Regions from separate parts of the Homo sapiens genome. Here all the other regions are linked to region 1. The links are contacts of gene promoters, found by promoter capture Hi-C in human tissues and cell types (Jung and others, 2019). All regions are on one chromosome and are shown on one strand. Each heading gives the region's core, a stretch centred on a gene start or on the middle of the fragment in contact. The rest is flanking DNA. Distances are from core to core; before and after follow the strand shown. Region 1 holds the start of CLN8 (CLN8 transmembrane ER and ERGIC protein). Region 2 has its middle 12 kb from the start of ZNF596. Region 3 overlaps ZNF596 (zinc finger protein 596). Region 4 overlaps FBXO25 (F-box protein 25). Region 5 overlaps TDRP (testis development related protein). Region 6 has its middle 12 kb from the start of TDRP. Region 7 overlaps ERICH1 (glutamate rich 1).

Evidence for each region. Contacts are between HindIII fragments. The study calls those that stand out against the background at their distance.
Region 2: a fragment that was not itself captured here is called in contact with the fragment with the promoter of CLN8 in region 1 in 1 of the 25 tissues and cell types used here (lymphoblastoid cells).
Region 3: a fragment that was not itself captured here is called in contact with the fragment with the promoter of CLN8 in region 1 in 1 of the 25 tissues and cell types used here (lymphoblastoid cells).
Region 4: a fragment that was not itself captured here is called in contact with the fragment with the promoter of CLN8 in region 1 in 1 of the 25 tissues and cell types used here (dorsolateral prefrontal cortex).
Region 5: a contact is called between a fragment that was not itself captured here and the fragment with the promoter of CLN8 in region 1, in 1 of the 25 tissues and cell types used here (dorsolateral prefrontal cortex).
Region 6: a fragment that was not itself captured here is called in contact with the fragment with the promoter of CLN8 in region 1 in 1 of the 25 tissues and cell types used here (dorsolateral prefrontal cortex).
Region 7: a contact is called between a fragment that was not itself captured here and the fragment with the promoter of CLN8 in region 1, in 1 of the 25 tissues and cell types used here (lymphoblastoid cells).

What each region holds. Positions count from the first base shown.
Region 1 is chr8:1,762,512-1,765,082 of GRCh38, forward strand. CLN8 (CLN8 transmembrane ER and ERGIC protein) reads left to right here and starts at 1,278. Exons shown (of 3, transcript NM_018941.4): 1 at 1,278-1,374. It overlaps CLN8-AS1 (CLN8 antisense RNA 1), which reads right to left and starts at 2,073. Exons shown (of 2, transcript NR_134303.1): 1 at 1,923-2,073; 2 at 1-417. The HindIII fragment of the contact is 16,643 bases long and covers 1-2,571 here.
Region 2 is chr8:219,313-221,883 of GRCh38, forward strand. It overlaps the pseudogene RPL23AP53. Among named protein-coding and RNA genes, the nearest start is that of ZNF596, 12 kb to the right of the region's middle. The HindIII fragment of the contact is 5,624 bases long and covers 1-2,571 here.
Region 3 is chr8:240,822-243,392 of GRCh38, forward strand. It overlaps ZNF596 (zinc finger protein 596), which reads left to right. Exons shown (of 6, transcript NM_001042416.3): 2 at 3-86; 3 at 2,066-2,192. The coding sequence starts at 75. Among named protein-coding and RNA genes, the nearest start is that of ZNF596, 9.7 kb to the left of the region's middle. The HindIII fragment of the contact is 4,314 bases long and covers 1-2,571 here.
Region 4 is chr8:410,536-413,106 of GRCh38, forward strand. It overlaps FBXO25 (F-box protein 25), which reads left to right. Exons shown (of 10, transcript NM_183420.2): 2 at 2,538-2,571. The coding sequence starts at 2,545. Among named protein-coding and RNA genes, the nearest start is that of FBXO25, 4.9 kb to the left of the region's middle. The HindIII fragment of the contact is 3,294 bases long and covers 1-2,571 here.
Region 5 is chr8:536,516-539,086 of GRCh38, forward strand. The region is part of intron 1 of TDRP (testis development related protein); the gene reads right to left. Among named protein-coding and RNA genes, the nearest start is that of TDRP, 7.0 kb to the right of the region's middle. RefSeq lists enhancers at 189-699, 700-1,209. The HindIII fragment of the contact is 5,767 bases long and covers 1-2,571 here.
Region 6 is chr8:555,761-558,331 of GRCh38, forward strand. No RefSeq gene overlaps it. Among named protein-coding and RNA genes, the nearest start is that of TDRP, 12 kb to the left of the region's middle. The HindIII fragment of the contact is 3,417 bases long and covers 1-2,571 here.
Region 7 is chr8:698,456-701,026 of GRCh38, forward strand. The region is part of intron 2 of ERICH1 (glutamate rich 1); the gene reads right to left. Among named protein-coding and RNA genes, the nearest start is that of ERICH1, 31 kb to the right of the region's middle. RefSeq lists an enhancer at 1-43. The HindIII fragment of the contact is 7,633 bases long and covers 1-2,571 here.

The DNA.
Region 1 (2,571 bases), core at 28-2,527:
ACACATTTACCCATGTTCTTAGACAATCCTAGGGACTCAAGGCTTCAACAAACCTAAATGAGCCAGCAGAAAAATAAACTTGAACATGAATGTCAACGTTTTCCCACATGTACTAAAGGGTTATAATAATTTTGAAATGTTTATTTCAAAGAGCGTTGGTAATTTAAACGTCCTATTTAATCCCCAAAACAGTCCTGAGGGGGAGATAAGGCAGTTATCTTCATAGTACAGGAAAGGAAAAAAGCGAGGGTCCAAGGCCGACTATACCCTCAGCTCCATTAGCCCCCGAGGCCTCCCTGACAGGCGGGGCGGACAATCCCAGTGCAGATGCTCTGTATCGATCGCATGCTATCGGTTCTTTCAAGGAACGTGTATTGATCATCAATTAAGTGGTGAGTACTCCTCTAGATGTCGATTCTAAAGAGGGAACAAAACACATTAGACAGAAGAAACATAAGTAACTCGAATAACAACCTTAGAGAGAAGAAACATAAGTAACTCGAATAACAACCTTAGCAAACTGCGGAAACTCCTACAGACAAAAACTCAGGTGTGGGCGCAGAAGGGCCGGGGATGCGCTCGGTCAAGACTTGAAGGTCCGGGGCTTGGGCCCTGTGTCCTCACCGAGCCCCGGGGAGGCTCCGGCTCCGTCCACACCCGGAGCGCGACTCAGCCGCGGCCGGGGCTCTTCTGGAGAACGGCGCGGTCAGGCTCTGCCGCAGCTTTCAGGTCCCCTCGGCCCCGTCCGGGTGCAGCGCAACCAGGCTGCCCGCGGAGCCCCACCGCCCCCATGCCGCCGCCCGCCATGGTTCAGCCCGGCCCCGCCCCTCCCGCCGGCCGTGGTTCAGCGCGTCCACCCCGCCGCCCCACAGCGCCCGCCGCGCCGCGCCCCGCCCCCCGCCGCGCCCCGCCCCCCGCCGCGCCCCGCCCCCCGCCGCGCCCCGCCCCCCGCCGCGCCCCGCCCCCCGCCGCGCCCCGCCCCCCGCCGCGCCCCGCCCCCCGCCGCGCCCCGCCCCCCGCCGCGCCCCGCCCCCCGCCGCGCCCCGCCCCCCGCCGCGCCCCGCCCCCCGCCGCGCCCCGCCCCCCGCCGCGCCCCGCCCCCCGCGCCGCGCCCCGCCCCCCGCCGCGCCCCTCCCGCGCCCGCCGCCCCGCCCCTCCCGCGCCCGCCGCCGTCGTAGCGCCTAGGCGGGGCCTCTCGTAGCGACGCCCCCAGGGGGGCAGAACGCGTGCGCACGCGCGTGCGAACGCGCGTGCGCGGGCGGTGTTTGAGGCCGGCCAGTCGTGACTGGGCGGCAATGAGGTCAGTGACTGCCGGGAGTCCTGCAGGGGCGGGGCGGCGCCAAGCGCAGGGAGCCCGGCTGAGTGGCAGCCCAGGTGAGCGCTCAGGGAGCCCGGGTGAGGGCCGGGAACCCAGGTGAGGGGCAGCCCAGGTGAGCGCGCGGGGTGCCCGGGTTAGGGGCCGGGAACCCAGGTGAGGGGCAGCCCAGGTGAGCGCGCGTGGAGCCCAGGCGAGGGGGCTGGGAAGCCCGGGTGAGGGGACCGGGGATCCCAGGTGAGGGGCCGGGAACTCAGCTGAGGGGGAACCCAGATGGGCGCGCGGGAGCCCACGTGAGGGGGAGCCCGGGTGAGGGGCCGGGGTGGCTCCTGGCGTCCGCGGTCCCAGCCCTGCCTTCCGGTGGGCGTGCGGCACCCCGGGCCGTGCGGTTCCCGGACAGCAGCTTGTGGGGGACTTTCGAGCCCCGCAGCCCGGGGTCCTGCCTGCGCGGGTTGGGCGTGGGGGGCTCCTCACCGCGACGCTGACTTTGGAGTCCTTGAGCGGCGCGGATGCCGGACGGAGGGAGGGGACAGGCGGAGGCGGAGGCGGCGCCGTCGCCCCTGACCTCGCTTCCCTCAGACCGGCTGGGCAAGTACGGTCAGCTCACCTGTGTGCCCACGAGGCGGGGAGGCGGCTCCTGCAGAGCCACAGAGGTGCCGTCGGAGCTGCTGTCAAGGACAGCAGGTGTCACGTGGGTGTGGCCTCCACTGGTCACCGAGTTAGCTGGGGCGGAAGGGGACAAGGTGCAGCTCAACATGGTGTGGGAGGCGGAGGGACGCTGGGTCAGTCAGAACCTGTAGGAGCGGGGAGGGACGCTGGGTAAGGTCACCAAAGTGTGCGGGGGAGAGAGCGGGCGCTGGGTCAGGTCAGCAGGAGGTGGGACCCGCCTGGGCTCTGGGCCCTATAGCCAGCTGCTCTAGGTTGGGGTTGGGTGTGGACAGTAGGGAGGGGAGCCAGGGGCTCCCCAGCCTGTGTAGATTCTGCTGTAAGTGACTCTTCTCTGAAAGACTGGCGCGAGGCGGCTGCTTCTGACTCCTGTTTCAGTTTACCCTCTGTGTGAAATCTGTAACTATCCAGCTTCTGCTTACCTCACTCCCGTATTTTGATTTTTATTTACATACAACTTTTCAGGAAGGTTGTGAGAGGAAAGAGCAATGGTGCAGGAAGTGTGAGTGATTGAGGGAATATGAGATGGCCACAGCTCCCCACTGAGCTTGAACACTTCTGTGCCTCACTTTCAGATTGGCCGTCATGGA
Region 2 (2,571 bases), core at 35-2,534, 1.5 Mb before region 1:
GTCTCCCCAGGTCAGTCTTAAGGACAACGAAACTCTGGTCTTCACTGTGGACATGCCACACTACCAGGTGCTCCAAAGCCATGGTGACCCGTCCTCGGGTGGGTCCTGAGGAGAAAAAAGCTCTGGTTCTAATCCTAACCCTAACCCTGTCCCAAGACTTTGACCCTGAATCTAAATCCTGATCCCTACCCTGGTCCCTAATTCTGACCCTAACTTTGACCCTGACTTTGATCTTGACCCTGACCATGACCCCACCTCTAAGCATACTTCTGGCCCTGACTCTGACCCAGATCCTAATCCTATCCCTAACCCTATTATTATCTTTACAATCTATGTCTAATCTTACTGTCTAGTGCTAAATAGCTGTACCCGAAAGCACTTTTAAATTATTTAACTTCTTTTCCTTGAATTCTCTAAGGACATCCTAAAGGAGATGTCATTATGTATTTTGCATTCCCTCTGAGTGGTATGGCTTCACATATGAAGTTCTAATACTTTGCAAGACATAAAATGTTTGGAGGGTAACAGCACTGGGTTGTTAGGGATGTATGTTGGCATTCATGATAGATTTTCCTTAAAATAAGAACAAATGGCTTGAGTAGGCTTTTGGAATGTAGGATGTTTCCGTTGGTTCATTTCTGTGTTCAGTATTCCCACATGAATCTAAACATGACTCTGCTCTTAGTAGCTGTGCGACCCTGGGAAAGTCACTCAATCTCCCTCAGCTAAATTTTGTTGTGTGTGTAATGAGAAGAGAGTTGTGATTTGTATTTAGTGAATAATAACAAACAAAAGGCATTTAGCTTTCTGGAACCTGGTATGTAGTAGAACCTCATGGAAATACTAGCTCTGTTAATAAAACTAGCCCAAAACAAGGTTTCAAGGTCAACAACAGTATCAGGCAGTGAAGGACATAGACGAGAAGCTGCTTCTGCAGCCTGTAGCTCCTGGAGGCCCATTTTGTCCATGATTTAGCAGGAACGCACTACCTTTCCATGAGGAGAAACTGCCCACAGAAACCAACGCCATTCTTTGAAGACAAACATGTCTTAATAGCCTTTACATTAAGTAATAGTGTAATATAAGTAATAATTTGTTATTAGTAATAATGTGAAATTATTTACACTACCCTAACCCCTAACCCTACCCCTACCCCTACCCCTAACCCCTAACCCTTAACCCTAACCCCTAACCCTAACCCCTAACCCTAACCCCTAACCCCTAACCCCTAACCCCTAACCCTAACCCTAAACCCTAAACCCTAAACTGTAAACCCTAAACCCTGCGCACTGTGGTTCACGCCAGCAATCCCAGCCCTTTGGGAGGCTAAGGCAGGTGGATCACCTGAGTCCAGGAGTTCAAGACCAGCCAGGATGACATAGCAAAACACCATCTCTACTAATAATACAAAAACCAGCTGTGAATGGTGACACACAGCTGAAGTAGCAGCTACTAGGGAGACTGAAGCAGGAGGACTGCTTGAGCCCAGAACGTGCAGGTTACATTAAGCTGAGATCGTGCCACTACACTCCAACCTGGGCAACAGTGCAAGACCCTGTCTCAAAAAAAAAAAAAAAAAAAGACATGGTATGATGGCTCATGCCTATCATCCCAGCAATTTCGAAGGCTGAGGCAGATGGATCACTTGAGGTCAGGAGTTGGAGACCAGCCTGGCCAACATGGCTAAACCTTGTCTCTACTAAAAATACAAACATTAGGGCCAGGCACGGTGGCTCATGCCTGAAATCCCAGCTCTTCTGGAGGCCGAGGCAGGAGGATCAACTGAGGACGGGAGTTCAAGACCATCCTGACCAAGATAAACAAACCCCATCTCAAACAAAAATACAAAATTAGCCTGCTGTAATGGTGCACGTCTGTAATCCCAGCTACTCAGGAGGCTGAGGCAGGAGAGTCGCTTGAACCCAGGAAGCGGAGGTGACAATGAGCTGAGATCCTGCCACTGCACTCCCGCTTGGGCAACACAGCAAGACTCTGTCTCAAAAAAAAAGAAAGCAAAAAGACAACCCACAGAAAGGAAGAAAATATTTGCTAGCACATTATATATCTAACAACTGTCCATTAACTACAATACATACAGAATATGTATAACTCAACAACAAAAGCAACCAAATTACAAATGGCGGAAGAGTTGAACTCACACCTTGCCAAAAAGACATGCAAATAGAAAACGAGGAAATGAAAAGACGATCAATATCATTATCATTATGGCCATCAAAACTGAAACCACAACCACATACTCCTTCACACACACTAGAAAGGCTATAATCCACAAATATTAAGTAACAAGTGTTGTCAAGGTCAGAGAGAAATCACAACCATTAAATACTGTATGTGGAATATAAAATGGTACAGCCTATTTGTAACATAGTTTGGTATTTCCACAAAAAGTTAAAAACACGACAGGCAAGGTGACTCATGCCTATAATCCCAGCACTTTGGAAGGCTGAAGCAGGCAGATCACTTGAGTGCAGGAGTTCAAGACCATCCAGAGAGACATAGCAAAACCCCGTCTCTACTAAAAATACAAAAATCAGCCAGGCATGCTGCCAC
Region 3 (2,571 bases), core at 23-2,522, 1.5 Mb before region 1:
AGATTTGTCTTCTTAGTGCTTGGATGGTGTGAGTGAAAACCCAGAGGAATACATTTGGTGGCTGAGCTAGTACAATGCCATCACCGGTGAGTGGGAAATTCTTCTTTCTACTGAAATTTGTACCCCTGTTACCAGCCTAAGGGCAGATTCATCCTATTAACATGGATGTTCTAAGTGCACTCAAGGATCCAAGCTCCAATTAAGATTCCCCAGGGCTTCGGAATGTTTACATTGGCTCAAAGAGTCATCAAGAAGTAATGTCCTTTCAACAGTACACTAAGGCATTCCAGCCTCTACTAAGGCTGTGTATTAAGATGTGAGAGGTTTTTGTTTCTCTCATCCAGTCTCAGGGAAATCATTCATTACGAGCCTCTCATGGCCTTGTTGGGGAAATAAATTCACTCATTACCTATGTTATTGGCAGGAGTGGGCTTGAGAGTATATGTGGGTAGGTGGTGAAAATAAGTGAGAGCAGGTTATAGCCCATACAAAGGCAAGCTCAGTTAGTCTAGTGTTTCAGGTGTTAGGGGAGGGCTGTTTAACTTGAAGGGAAAGCAGATAGGGTTAGGACAGAGGAGACAATGAGGAATTATTCATTTATTTTTCCTATCTCAAAATCTTAATGTCTTGAGAGAATAAATGTGAACTTTTGAAAAACTTAAAAAGCAAAATTAAAATTCTTATTACCCTTGTCCCCAAATTAACCTCTGATCAAATTTGATAACTGGAAGCAACTGGAGTGTTGTTTCTTTAATTTTGGTTGTGCATTAAGTGATGGAGTATAGGAAACAGAGTAAATTTAAAACTCTGAGGAAATTTTTGAAGTGGAGAGACCAGGACAATCAAAGGATTTTTTTTCCCCTAAATCTAGAGACAACATGAAGAAACAAAATAGAATAGTACCTAGTGCATTAGTCCATTTTCACACCGCTATAAAAAACTACCTGATAGTGGGTAATTTATGAAGAAAAGAAGTTTAACTGACTGACAGTTCTGCAGGCTTAACAGGAAGCATGACTGGGAGGCCTCCAGAAACTTACAATCATGGTGGAAGGGGAAGCAAGCACCTTCTTCATAAGGCAGCAGGAGAGAGACCAAATCAGGAAATGCCACACACTGTTAAATCATCAGATCTTCTGAGATATTACTAGCATGAGAACAGCAAGGGGGAAGTTCACCCCCATGATTCAATCACCTCCCACCGGACCCCTCCCCCAACATGTGGGGATTACAATTCAAGATGAGATTTGGGTGGGGACACAGAGCCAAACTATATCACCTGGTGTTTGAAGATCCCACATAAAATTGAGAAAGGAAATCCTCAGACCATGGAAAGTGGCAGGATGAGACCATCTTTCAGTACTGAAGTCTTAGAGTCCCTGGCTTGTGCTGCTGAGCCATTCATCCTTATCCATTAACAGTGAACACCTGAGTTGTGTAGACATAAGAGGCTGCATCTGCTGATACCAAGTTCTATATGAAAGTTGTTCACACAACTGAGTGTTCTCAGTCATTTCATGAATAATGTATTTGTGGCTTGTATCTAAAAAGTGATAGATAGGAACCACTTTACATACTATCTCATTGGACCTTTTTGAACTCATAACAGGTCTTTATTTTATTCTGAGGACACTGAGGTCCTATAGTGGAATATCTAACTATAGTCTTGATTAAAACGTGACAAATTATGGATGCTGCCTCCCTTGTAGTGAGTCTATAGATTTTCTTGAAGGTGGTGGAGAGGAGAATTTTAGTTCTAAATTTCCAAGTACAGATTTCATAATTAGTATCTGTAAGTTATACTTTAGAAGTCTATTGGGAAATCTTCAGGTTATATTATGCCACACCACATGTGATATTTCTCTATGTGAAGTTTTATGTATGAGTAAATCTGAAAGCCAGATTCCCAGTTCAGATTTAAAGCAATGTGACAGGAACCCCAAACACTGTTTTGAGTTTTCTGTTCATACCACCCACACTTCCTTAGTACAGTCACTTTGATCTTGCTCCACTGAACATTGGCAGAGATAGCCCTGTTTGCAGTAGAATGTCCATAATGTTTTAGGATTCCATGACCTTCGAGGATATCATTGTAGACTTCACTCAAGAAGAGTGGGCCCTGCTGGACACATCCCAGAGAAAGCTGTTTCAAGATGTGATGTTGGAGAACATCAGTCATCTGGTCTCTATTGGTGAGTCTCTTTATATTTATTATGTATGTATATACGGATTCATTCACTCACTCATTTTTCACTGATTCATTCTTTCATTCTACACGTGCTTAGAACAGCTTTCTCATCTATCACTTCAACTTCTGCTTTGATCCTTTCATAACTCTCACAATTACCTGACAGCCATTTCTTTCCTTTTCACTTATATTGATTTGTCCTCTCTCTAGAAAGTCATCTTTCTGACCACAGTTTCACATCCTTCTTGCTCTTTAATCTCCCAAACTCAGAAAAGTTATGGTAATTCACTGCTTTGGTATGCATAAATAAATGTATTGATTTCTTTAAAGTAATTATTCTATCATAGGGACTGTTCTGCACAGAACCTAGATTGTTCTGGTGG
Region 4 (2,571 bases), core at 30-2,529, 1.4 Mb before region 1:
GTTTTATGAGACTCAAGGTGCCACTTCAGTCATCTGCTACTTCATGGTCTTTGCTGCCTTTGGTGGGAATGTTCTTGAAAATCATAAAATCAGCTGTATGCTATTAGAGACAGTTTTAGATAACTTTAGGTCGACTGAACATGGGCATTGAGTTTTGCATTTTAGGATGTTCAGTAGTTGTGAAGCAGTTCTGTGAGACAAAGTTTATCAAAATTGTGCTGAAATTTAAGGAATAAAGTATTTTCTAAAGCAAGAATTTAAATTAATCATTATGTGACTGAAAAAGACATGTTCTGACTATAAGTCAGTTTAGCAAGGTTTGAGATTTTCTTCGTGTAAAGAATAATTACTTCATCATTTCCTACACCAGTCAAGAATTAAGCATTTGTGGTTGATCCAGGAATATTGTTGAAGTCTATGTAATTTCCTTCCTTTTTTTTCTGTATCTTCTAGGATTGTATAAGTGCCCATTTAATAGCTTGTTTTTTGTTAATTATACTAAATATAGTTGGGAGGTGGTGTTTGGAGATGTTCATCTCTCATTTATTCTCCATGATGTAAATATTCTACATTTTTCTCTACGATATAAATATTCTATATTATAAAATACTCAAGTCTGTTCGGGACGTGAAATTAAAGTAATACATTACAGAAACCACTTTTGCTTGAGTAATTCAGCTACCTTTCTGTAGCTAAATTCAACGTATATTTTCAACTCTTGCCATGCTTGGCATTTTTATAACATTTTCGTCTCTGTCGACCATTTCTTTCCTGAAATACATTTTTCTCCTGACTTCCTACTTCTCCCTCTACCTTTTTGGCTCTTCCTTTTCAGTTTTTCTTCTTGGCTTATATCTGCCGATCCCTTAAATGGTGATGTTTCTTAGGGTTTTTTTCTTGGCTCTCTTGATTTCCCTCTCGACATATTCTGTGATATTATTTGTGTGGTTTTGATTAGTGTCTGAATGCTCATGATTTTCCTCTTTCTCTCTAGTCTAACTCTCTTCTGAACCATGGATGTATATATTTATTCATTCAGTAAATAAATACTTATAGAGCTCCTGTTGTTTTCCTGGCATTGTTCAAGGTAATGGAATACGGACCTGAACAAGACATTGCATTTTCTTGGAGGAAAACAGATGATAAACACGCTAATCATTTCAGACAGCCCTTACAACTATGAAGGCACTAGATAATGGCTTAGACTGGTAGGGAGGGGGTTGAGGCAGCAGAAGGGCGCTGTTTGGACGGGGAGTCAGGGAGCCTTTCTGGGATGTGACATTTTGAATCAGCAGTGTGAGCATCTGAGGTGGTTTTTAGCCTCATGCACAGTCTCACTGTGTATGAGAATCACCTGTGGACCTTTAAAAACTACTTAAACTTAGCCTTCACCCCCAAATATTCATATTTAACTGAACTAAGATGGGACTAAGCACTTGAATGTTTAAAAAGCTTCCTGTGATGTTAATGCACAGCAGTAGTTGAAAACCACTGATCAAGAGGAGCAGAAATCAAGTCAGTGGGAAGAACTAGCATTTGAAGTCTCACTCTTATCAAATTGTGAGCGTCATGAAGTTAATCACGAAGTTGCATCATTTTTTAAGTCATAATTTTTATACCTGGAGTCTGGTATTTCAAACTGAACAGGCATGTCCTAAGCTGAAATTAATATCCCTTATCTCTCCTTTCCTAATAAAACCCTGCTGTTCCTTCTGTATGTCTTATCCCAGATCCAGGGGCTACAAAACAAAATCTAGATAACTTCCTTGATTTCCTCCTCACGTTTCCAGACAGTCTTCAAGTACTGTTTGACTCTGTTTCCTAAATATTTCTGCAGTCTCTGCTCTTCTGTTTATTTTGCCACTGTATACTCTCACCTTTTAAAGGTCAACATTCAGAAGCCTCCAGTCCCAACTACTTTCCTCCAGGTGACCCTCACCCCATACCTTCTCCCACTGTGATACTGAGTTCTTTGTAAACCACAAATCTGATTGAATCACTTACCTGCTTACTTCCCTTTTTTGGCCCCTCATTGCCCTCAGAATAGCATCCAACTCCTCTAACTTGATCCAGCCTTAAATGACTTCTCCATCCTTAATTCTGGCCCACTCTCTCTCATCTATTCTAAGCTTCAACCAAACTGAACTACTTAGAGTTGCTGAACATGAATACATTTCATTTTCGGTTGCTTCTAACTTCTGGCAAAGAGAGAATACTTGTTTGGAATAATATTCCCTATTCCACACTCCCTGACCCCTGCTTGTTTTTCAGGTATGAGCTAGAATGTCACCTCTGGTAAACCTTTCATGGGATACGCAGTATTAGGCCAGTAAAACCACGTTTACTTACCCCATTTGATCACTTTAGTACACAGTACTGTGTTATTGTCACTGTCACCAATGTCGAGCCAACGTTTAATTAATGAGCAGACATTTAAATGTTAAGAACTTTAATCTTTAAAATTAATAAATGTTCTAAGTGAAAAGAAACTTTTATGAATTATATATACTTTTTAACATAATTTAACTTTTTCATAGGAGAACTATGCCATTTTTGGGTCAGGACTGGAGA
Region 5 (2,571 bases), core at 36-2,535, 1.2 Mb before region 1:
ATACTGATCAAGTATTTCTGAAGAAAACTTGGCATACAAATTGATACATATTAATATCTTGTGCTGGTAAATGTAAAATACACATAGATATGAGAGTATGAAAAAAATGTAAAGGATCTCTAACAAATTTTATATTGATTACCTATTGATGTAATATGCTGAATATATCAAATTTTAAATATTGAATTAAAACTTTTTAATGTGGCCACCAGAAAATGTTTTGCTATGTTTCAGTGGAGGAAAGCACCACTCTGTTCCACAGGCAGGAGCTCCCCAAGCATCAGTTAAGAGGAGCCAGCTGAATCCGGAGCGAATAAGCAGCGCCCAGGATCCTCCTTCCCTTCTATAATATCGTAACTGACCCTTCCTGCTTCCTCTCAAGTAATCACCCACAGAGACTTGACTCAAGTGCTTCTGCTGACTGAGTATCTGACTCAGCTCATATGAGAGTCCAATGAGACTAACCCTACAAATATCTGTTTACCCAAGAAAGAATCTGCATCAAGATCAGCTCCCCTAAGGCTGGAGAACTCCTGCTCCCCGCTCCAGACTCCAGAGTTCCCACCCTGACTCAATTCTGCAGCTCCCATCAGGTGCCGTAATGTGGAAACCCCACACCAGGTACACTCCTCTCAGGGGCACTGCTGAGCCCCACGTGGGCCTGGCTCCCTTCCTGGGCTGGCTCCCTGCCTGGTCTTGGGGATACAGCACTGAGCATTCAGCCTAGGATGAAATGGTCCTCCAGAGAGGCTTGTGATGTCCGAATGCCTGTCGCACAAGTGAGAAGTGCCTGAATGCAGCTGTCCCAGGACCCTCCTGCCTGCACCACACCCCACTGTCCACATCAACTCGGGCAATGAGCACATTCCAGAGCAAGGGATACCAGAAAACCAAATCCTAAGTCAGTAAAAAGCATTAACTATTTCTATTATTTAATAACAAGACCTCCTTTTTCTTCTTTTAGTGTGTCTGTTTGCCAGAGAAAAATATTAAGGGCTGGATATGGATGACTTCATTTACTTTTCACTTTTTCATTTCATCCCAGGGGCAGGACAGCCTGGTTTGCACACACTGGCCATGGGGACTACGAGGTTTTTAGAAGTCTTCATTGGTCTTGTAAACAAGTAAGAATTCACCGGGGTTTGAGAATTATGACTCCTTTAAAGTCGAATGCTAAATTAGCCTCCTATCAGTCTCACAACTACCTGAAACAAAAGAGGACATTTCCCAGAGGAGACGAGCCTAACTTCAGCTGTCACCTGACTCCAAGTTGCAAATCCTGCCTCCCTGTAAAGATAGGATAAATTTAGCAATTTTATCTTGAAAACATGAATACAATGGGTTTTACCTACTTGGTTATATAAAAGAGTAAGACTTCTTTCATCTTCACAATCTGTGCCTATGATGTGTCCCATCCTAGCTAAGTGCTCCTTCATAATAAAATTATTTTATTTCTCTTCCTATATTGTTAAGTTTTCTTGGTTGGGAAGAGGTTTTGTTTTTAAAACAAAATGTCTGCAACCTTTCACCACTGATAAAGAAAAAGCTTCTGCGGCATTGTTAAAACAGGGAGACTCCAATCAAGGCTATCTCAATAGAGGAGAGGTTTGGTTCAGCTCCCAACAGGCAAAGACAGCTGTGATTTGCAGCCAACCGCAAAGGAGTCTCGGGATGGGAAGTGACCAAGAGAAGACTTCATCAAGGGTGGGAGATTCTTGCTACAGGTGGGCCAAGAACTCAGACATCAAGGCCAGGGGATGAGGAACTCAATCAGACATCAAGGGTGAGGAGGTTCGCACTGCAGGGACTTCTACTGAGGCTGGGAAGGACAAAAGCGAGGTCCTGACTAAAGCTGGGTCAGATAGAGTCTGTTGGCAGCTGTGTAGCCTTCCCGGTCCCTCCTCCTTTGTGCCCATGTGTCAGATGGTGGCACCAACCCATATCAAGAATTTATGAACAGGGGCTAAGCACCGCCTCAATAAACACTAGTGATAGCTCTATTTATCCCAATTTTACAGCTAAAAAACAAAACTGATACTTGGCTAGGTCAAGTGGCTCAACAAAAGGCAGAGATAGGGTGTAGATTCAATCAAGGCTCACCAGAAACCAAGTCCAAATCTAAACTACCCAACTGTATTTTCATGCAAATACAGTTATCTTGACTACAGTTCCATACATTCAATGACATGGTAGTGGGACTGGGGGAGAAGTCTTTAGAAGTCTTCATTAGGCTTGTGAACATCTAAGAAGCTATTGAATATAAATAAGAGAAAGGCAAATTAAAATCACATTAAGATGCAACTTTTCCCCCCATCAGATCTAAAATCTTGAAGACATGCGCATCTCACCACACTGGTGAGAAACATTCGCATATGCTGCTGGTTGGAACGTAAACCAGGACCGCCTCTTTCAGAGGGCAATTTGGAGACATCCATCAAAACCACAAATGCACGCATCCTCGGACAGCTCCACTTCTAGACTTGTGAAATAACTATCCTGCAGGCCTATAATAGAAAGAGACTAGAAATATCCCCCTGAAGGCATCAATAGGGGACTCGTTTTTTCAATTTG
Region 6 (2,571 bases), core at 42-2,541, 1.2 Mb before region 1:
GGTCAGGCCTGGTGGAGGGGAGGGCTCAGGAGGCTGACTAAAGTTTGGTCCAGGAGAGAGTTGCCATCAGTCAAATGTCCTTCTTTCCTATGAACAATGTAAATCTATTACTTGTTGTGTTCCCTCTTGTTTATTAAGGACCAGCTGATTCATCTGGTGAGACTTTGTGGTAGAGGGCATTTGCAGGATGGTGTGAGCAGTCAGGCATTTAATGAAGGATGTTTCTGTGAAAATAAAAGAAAAGCCAGCAGGGCACAGTGGCTCATGCCTGTAATCCCAGCACTTTGGGAGGCCAAGGCAGGTGGATCACCTGAGGTGAGGAGTTCAAGACCAACCTGACCAAAATAGTGAAACCCTGTCTCTACTAAAAATACAAAAATTAGCTGGGCGTGGTAGTGGGCACCTGTAATACCAGCTACTCGGGAGGCTGAGGCAGGAGAATCACTTGAACCTGGGAGGTGGAGGTTGCAGTGAGCCGAGACCGCACCATTGCACTCCAGCCTGGGCAACAACGTGAGACTCTGTCCCCCACTCCAAAAAAAAAAAAAAAAAGAAAAGAAAAGCCATAACTAATGGTTAGAAACCCAGCTTCTGAATCCACACGGCAGCTAGTCAAGATTTCTAGAATTAAGCTCAAAGCATCATTCAGTGGAGGTGTGAGGACCGCAGGGGTGATCTGACAGTTTCCTGGTGTGCAGTTTAATGTTTTTGGTGATTGCAGTGGGTGTTCCAGTGAACTTTCTGAGTGGCTTATTCAGCAGTGGGCGCATGGGTTACTCAGATGTGATCTGTTGTGGGGGATTCCTTGAAGCTTCTTCAAGGAAACATCTTCAAGGAAGATTCTTCAATTCGGGAGTTGACCCAGACTTTGCCTGCAATATCTATAGATTTGGGCGAATTCTTCTCTACCAGACATCCCTAAGATATCTTAAGTTTCCTGGATCTGCCAGGAAGTGACTTTCCTTAGTCACCTGCAAGGCGGGGAGTCCTGTAATTGAGGTACCAAGATGGTTTTTCCAAGTGGACTCTGTAAGCATTGGCTCTTTGGAGTTAACCTTACTTCCCTAAAGCTGTCTGGTCACCGCAGATTCTCACATGTGACATTCCAGTAAAAGCCTTGGTAATCTATCCAATGTATCCTGTTACAAGTAAAACATAGTCTTATTGAATGCATGCAAATAACTGTGTTGCCATGAAAATAAAAATACTCAATAAGAGTTTTCCAATCCTGGAGCAATCAGGAGGGGAGAAAGAATAAATGTTTCATTTCTGTTTATAAAAGTACAATAACTTAAGAGAAAAGAGAAAGGGGTTTCTTATGTCCAGAAAAGAGAACATTAAAGGATCATCAGTGTTCCAGACAATAACTATAATCATCTTTTATCTATTCATTCGGTCCCATGTGATTAAATCTTGTTCTGTGTGACCTTGAGATAGCAGTTTCATGAACTATCACCTTCTCCACAAGAGCTCTGAAAATTCTGACTCAGCCCAGCATGGTCTTATAATGGTCAATTTTAGGTGTCAACTTGACTGGATTAAGGGATATCCAGATAGCTGGTAAAGTGTTATTTCTGGGTATGTCGGTGAGGTTTTTCTGGAAGGGACTGGCATTTGAATCAGTGGACTGAGTAAGGGAGACCTCCTCTCACCAATGTGGATGTCATCACCCAAGCCATTGAGGATCCAGATAGAGCAAAAAGGCAAAGGTAAGGCAAATTCTTTCCCTGTCTCTTTTCTGGAACTGGGACATCTTTCTTCTCCTGTCCTGAGACATCAAAACTTCAGGTTCTCTGGCCTTTGGCCTCAGACTGAGAGTTACACCACCAGCTTCTCCAGTTCTGGAACCTTCAGACTTGAGCTGAGCCATACCACTGGCTTCCCTCAGTCTCCAGCTTACGGACAGCCTGTTGTGGGACTTCTCAGCTTCCATAATTATACGAGCAATTTCCCTAAAAAAATCCCCTCTTATCCATCTCTCTCCTATTGGTTCTGTCTCTCTAGAGAATCCTGACTAATACAGGTCTCAAAGTTTTCAAACGATGCCATCACAAATCATTCTGGCCTACACCTGATTGCAAATGCTTTCAGGGAAGAATCAGAGTAACACAAAACCATCTGTGAATAACAAAATATTTTAAATGGGTATGCTTAGATATCTGATGAGAATGCATTTGACAAAAGACTTTTTTTATAACATACAACATTTAATAAAAACAATTGAAATTGTGACCGATAATATGGAACTGGATAAAGCATGGCCAGTGCAGGCACTGACAGTTGTCCATAGCTCTGCACAACTTCTGAAAGAGTTACATTAAGACGATTTACCCATATAAATACAACCTAAAGAAGGTTACACACCCTTCTTATTTAACAATGACTCTTCATGCAATTCAACATATCAAATAAACCAAATTAGGTTTTGACATTCTCCTACAAGGTTGTCTTAGTCAGTGCTGTGCTGCTATAACAGAGTACCTGGGAGGTTTAGTTCTTACACTTCTGGAGGGTGGGAAGTCCAAGGTTGAGGGCCTGCATCTCGCAGTGGTCTCTTGGCTGCATCATCCC
Region 7 (2,571 bases), core at 39-2,538, 1.1 Mb before region 1:
TGATCCTCCTGCCTCGGCCTCCTAAAGTGCTGGGATTACAGGTGAGAGCCACCGTGCCCGGCCCTGAATTACATTCCTGCCAGCAATTTATGAGTATTCATTTTCCTCAATTCTCAATGACAAGGTGGTCATTGAAAAATTACACACTTCTGAAAAACATTTTTAAAAAATTCTTTTAGAGACAGGGTCTCACTCTGTTGCACAGGTTAGAATGCAATGATGCGATCATGGCTCACTGTCTAGAGCTCCTGGGCTCAAGCAATCCTCCCTCCTTGGCCTCCTAAAGTGCTAGGATTACAGGCGTGAGTCACTGTGTTTGGCCTGAAAAGTCTTTTGTCCATTTTGCTGGAAAAAGTGCTGGAGGCAAAACCAGGGCTCACGGTGCACCTCCGTCCTCCTCAGGTAGGATGCCACGAAGTAGCATCCTATGGTTGTCTCTGTGAGTTTTTTTTTTTTTTTTTTAACCAGGGAGGCTCTCCAGGATCATCCTGCAGGGGAACTGCAAGTGCCAAGCACAACTGCTGTGCGTGCTCCAAAGTCTCGGCTCAGCTGTGGCGGGAGGCTCAGTGGAGCCCAGGAGCTCAGGGCCGTGGGTGCCAGGACCATGCCTGAAAAGAGCACCGCACTACGGCCTGCGCAACACAGGGAAACCCTGTCTCAAAAAACCCCCCAAACCCACTAAATATCAGCTCAGAAACTCCCCGTGCATTTGGCTCCATTCTACAATATGGTCACAGTTACCCTGATACGAGATGTGTAAGGCTGGTTATCATCAGGAACGAAAGAAAAAGGTATTTCCCACCTGCATGGATAACTGGCAAAATGCTACCGGGGGGAGCGCCAGCCCCACCAGAGGGCTGGACAGAAGAGTGGACGCCACCCCCGATTGCTGTCCCAGCGGCCTTCTTCTCTCCTGGTACCACGACATTTCAAGTAATTAGATCTGTATCAATGCGAGGCCACAATCACAGCAACTTCAAGTGAAATCAGTGTAAAATCCAAGGACAAGCACGAGCACAACAATGCTGCCTGGTATCTCCGCTGGGCGCCGCACCCAGACCCTCCCCACCCCTCAGGGTGACGGCGACTCACAAAAGCAGGCGTTCCAGAGAAGGAGGACGGCTTCATTTCCCTCCTATTTTCATCATATTTAAACAAGCTCCAGCATCCAAGATCTCAACACGCGCGTGAAAGCACACACAGGAGCACGTACAGACCCGCACACGTGCACAGACTCACACAGGCGCACAGACCCGCACACGTGCACAGACTCACAGGCGCACAGACACGCACACGTGCACACTCACACAGCCGCACAGACCCGCACACGCGCACAGACCCGCACACGCGCACAGATCCGCACAAGCGCACAGACCCGCACAGGCGCACAGACCCGCACACGCGCACAGACCCTCACAGGCGCACAGATCCGCACACGCGCACAGACCCGCACAGGCGCACAGGCCCGCACAGGCGCACAGACCCGCACACGCGCACAGGCCCGCACACGCGCACAGACCCGCACACGCGCACAGACCCTCACAGGCGCACAGACCCGCACACGCGCACAGACCCTCACAGGCGCACAGGCCCGCACACGCGCACAGGCCCTCACAGGCGCACAGACCCGCACACGCGCACAGACCCGCACACGCGCACACACCCTCACAGGCGCACAGACCCGCACAGGCGCACAGACCCGCACACGCGCACAGGCCCGCACAGGCCCGCACACGCGCACAGGCCGGCACAGGCGCACACACCCGCACACGCGCACAGGCCCGCACAGGCCCGCACACGCGCACAGGCCCGCACAGGCGCACAGACCCGCACAGGCCCGGACACGCGCACAGACCCGCACACGCGCACAGGCCCGCACACGCGCACAGATCCGCACACGCGCACAGGCCCGCACAGGCGCACAGGCCCGCACACGCGCACAGGCCCGCACAGGCGCACAGGCCCGCAGACGCGCACAGGCCCTCACAGGCCACAGACCCGCACAGGCGCACAGACCCGCACAGGCGCACAGGCCCGCACACGCGCACAGGCCCGCACAGGCGCACAGGCCCGCACAGGCGCACAGGCCCGCACACGCGCACAGGCCCGCACAGGCGCACAGACCCGCACACATGCACACGCCTGACAGCTCCAGTCAGTCCTCACTATCCAGCTTCCAAGCTACAACTTATCACAGCTGTTTTATGTGCAGTAAAATGTCCCACTGCCTTGTGGCTGCTCGGAAAAGGTGCTCAGCGGTGGGAGGTCCTGCCCCATCGGATGGCCTCCTCCATGCAAATGTGGTTTGCTGTCTTTCACAGACTCTTAATCAGCTATTCAGAGTCTTGGGAAAATATTCCTTTATCAGAGGCTTCCAGATGGCAGATAAGAGGAAAAACTCTCCTGAAAAATACTTAACAATGCCAGATAAAACACAGCAAACCTACCTTCAATGCACAGCCCAGCTCTCAAGACAAGGGCAATCTGGCCCAAAAATGACAGAGGAAAAGCAGCCGAGAGGAAGTGCAGGTGCCAACCACGCTGCGTGCAGCATCACGGACAATGTGAATT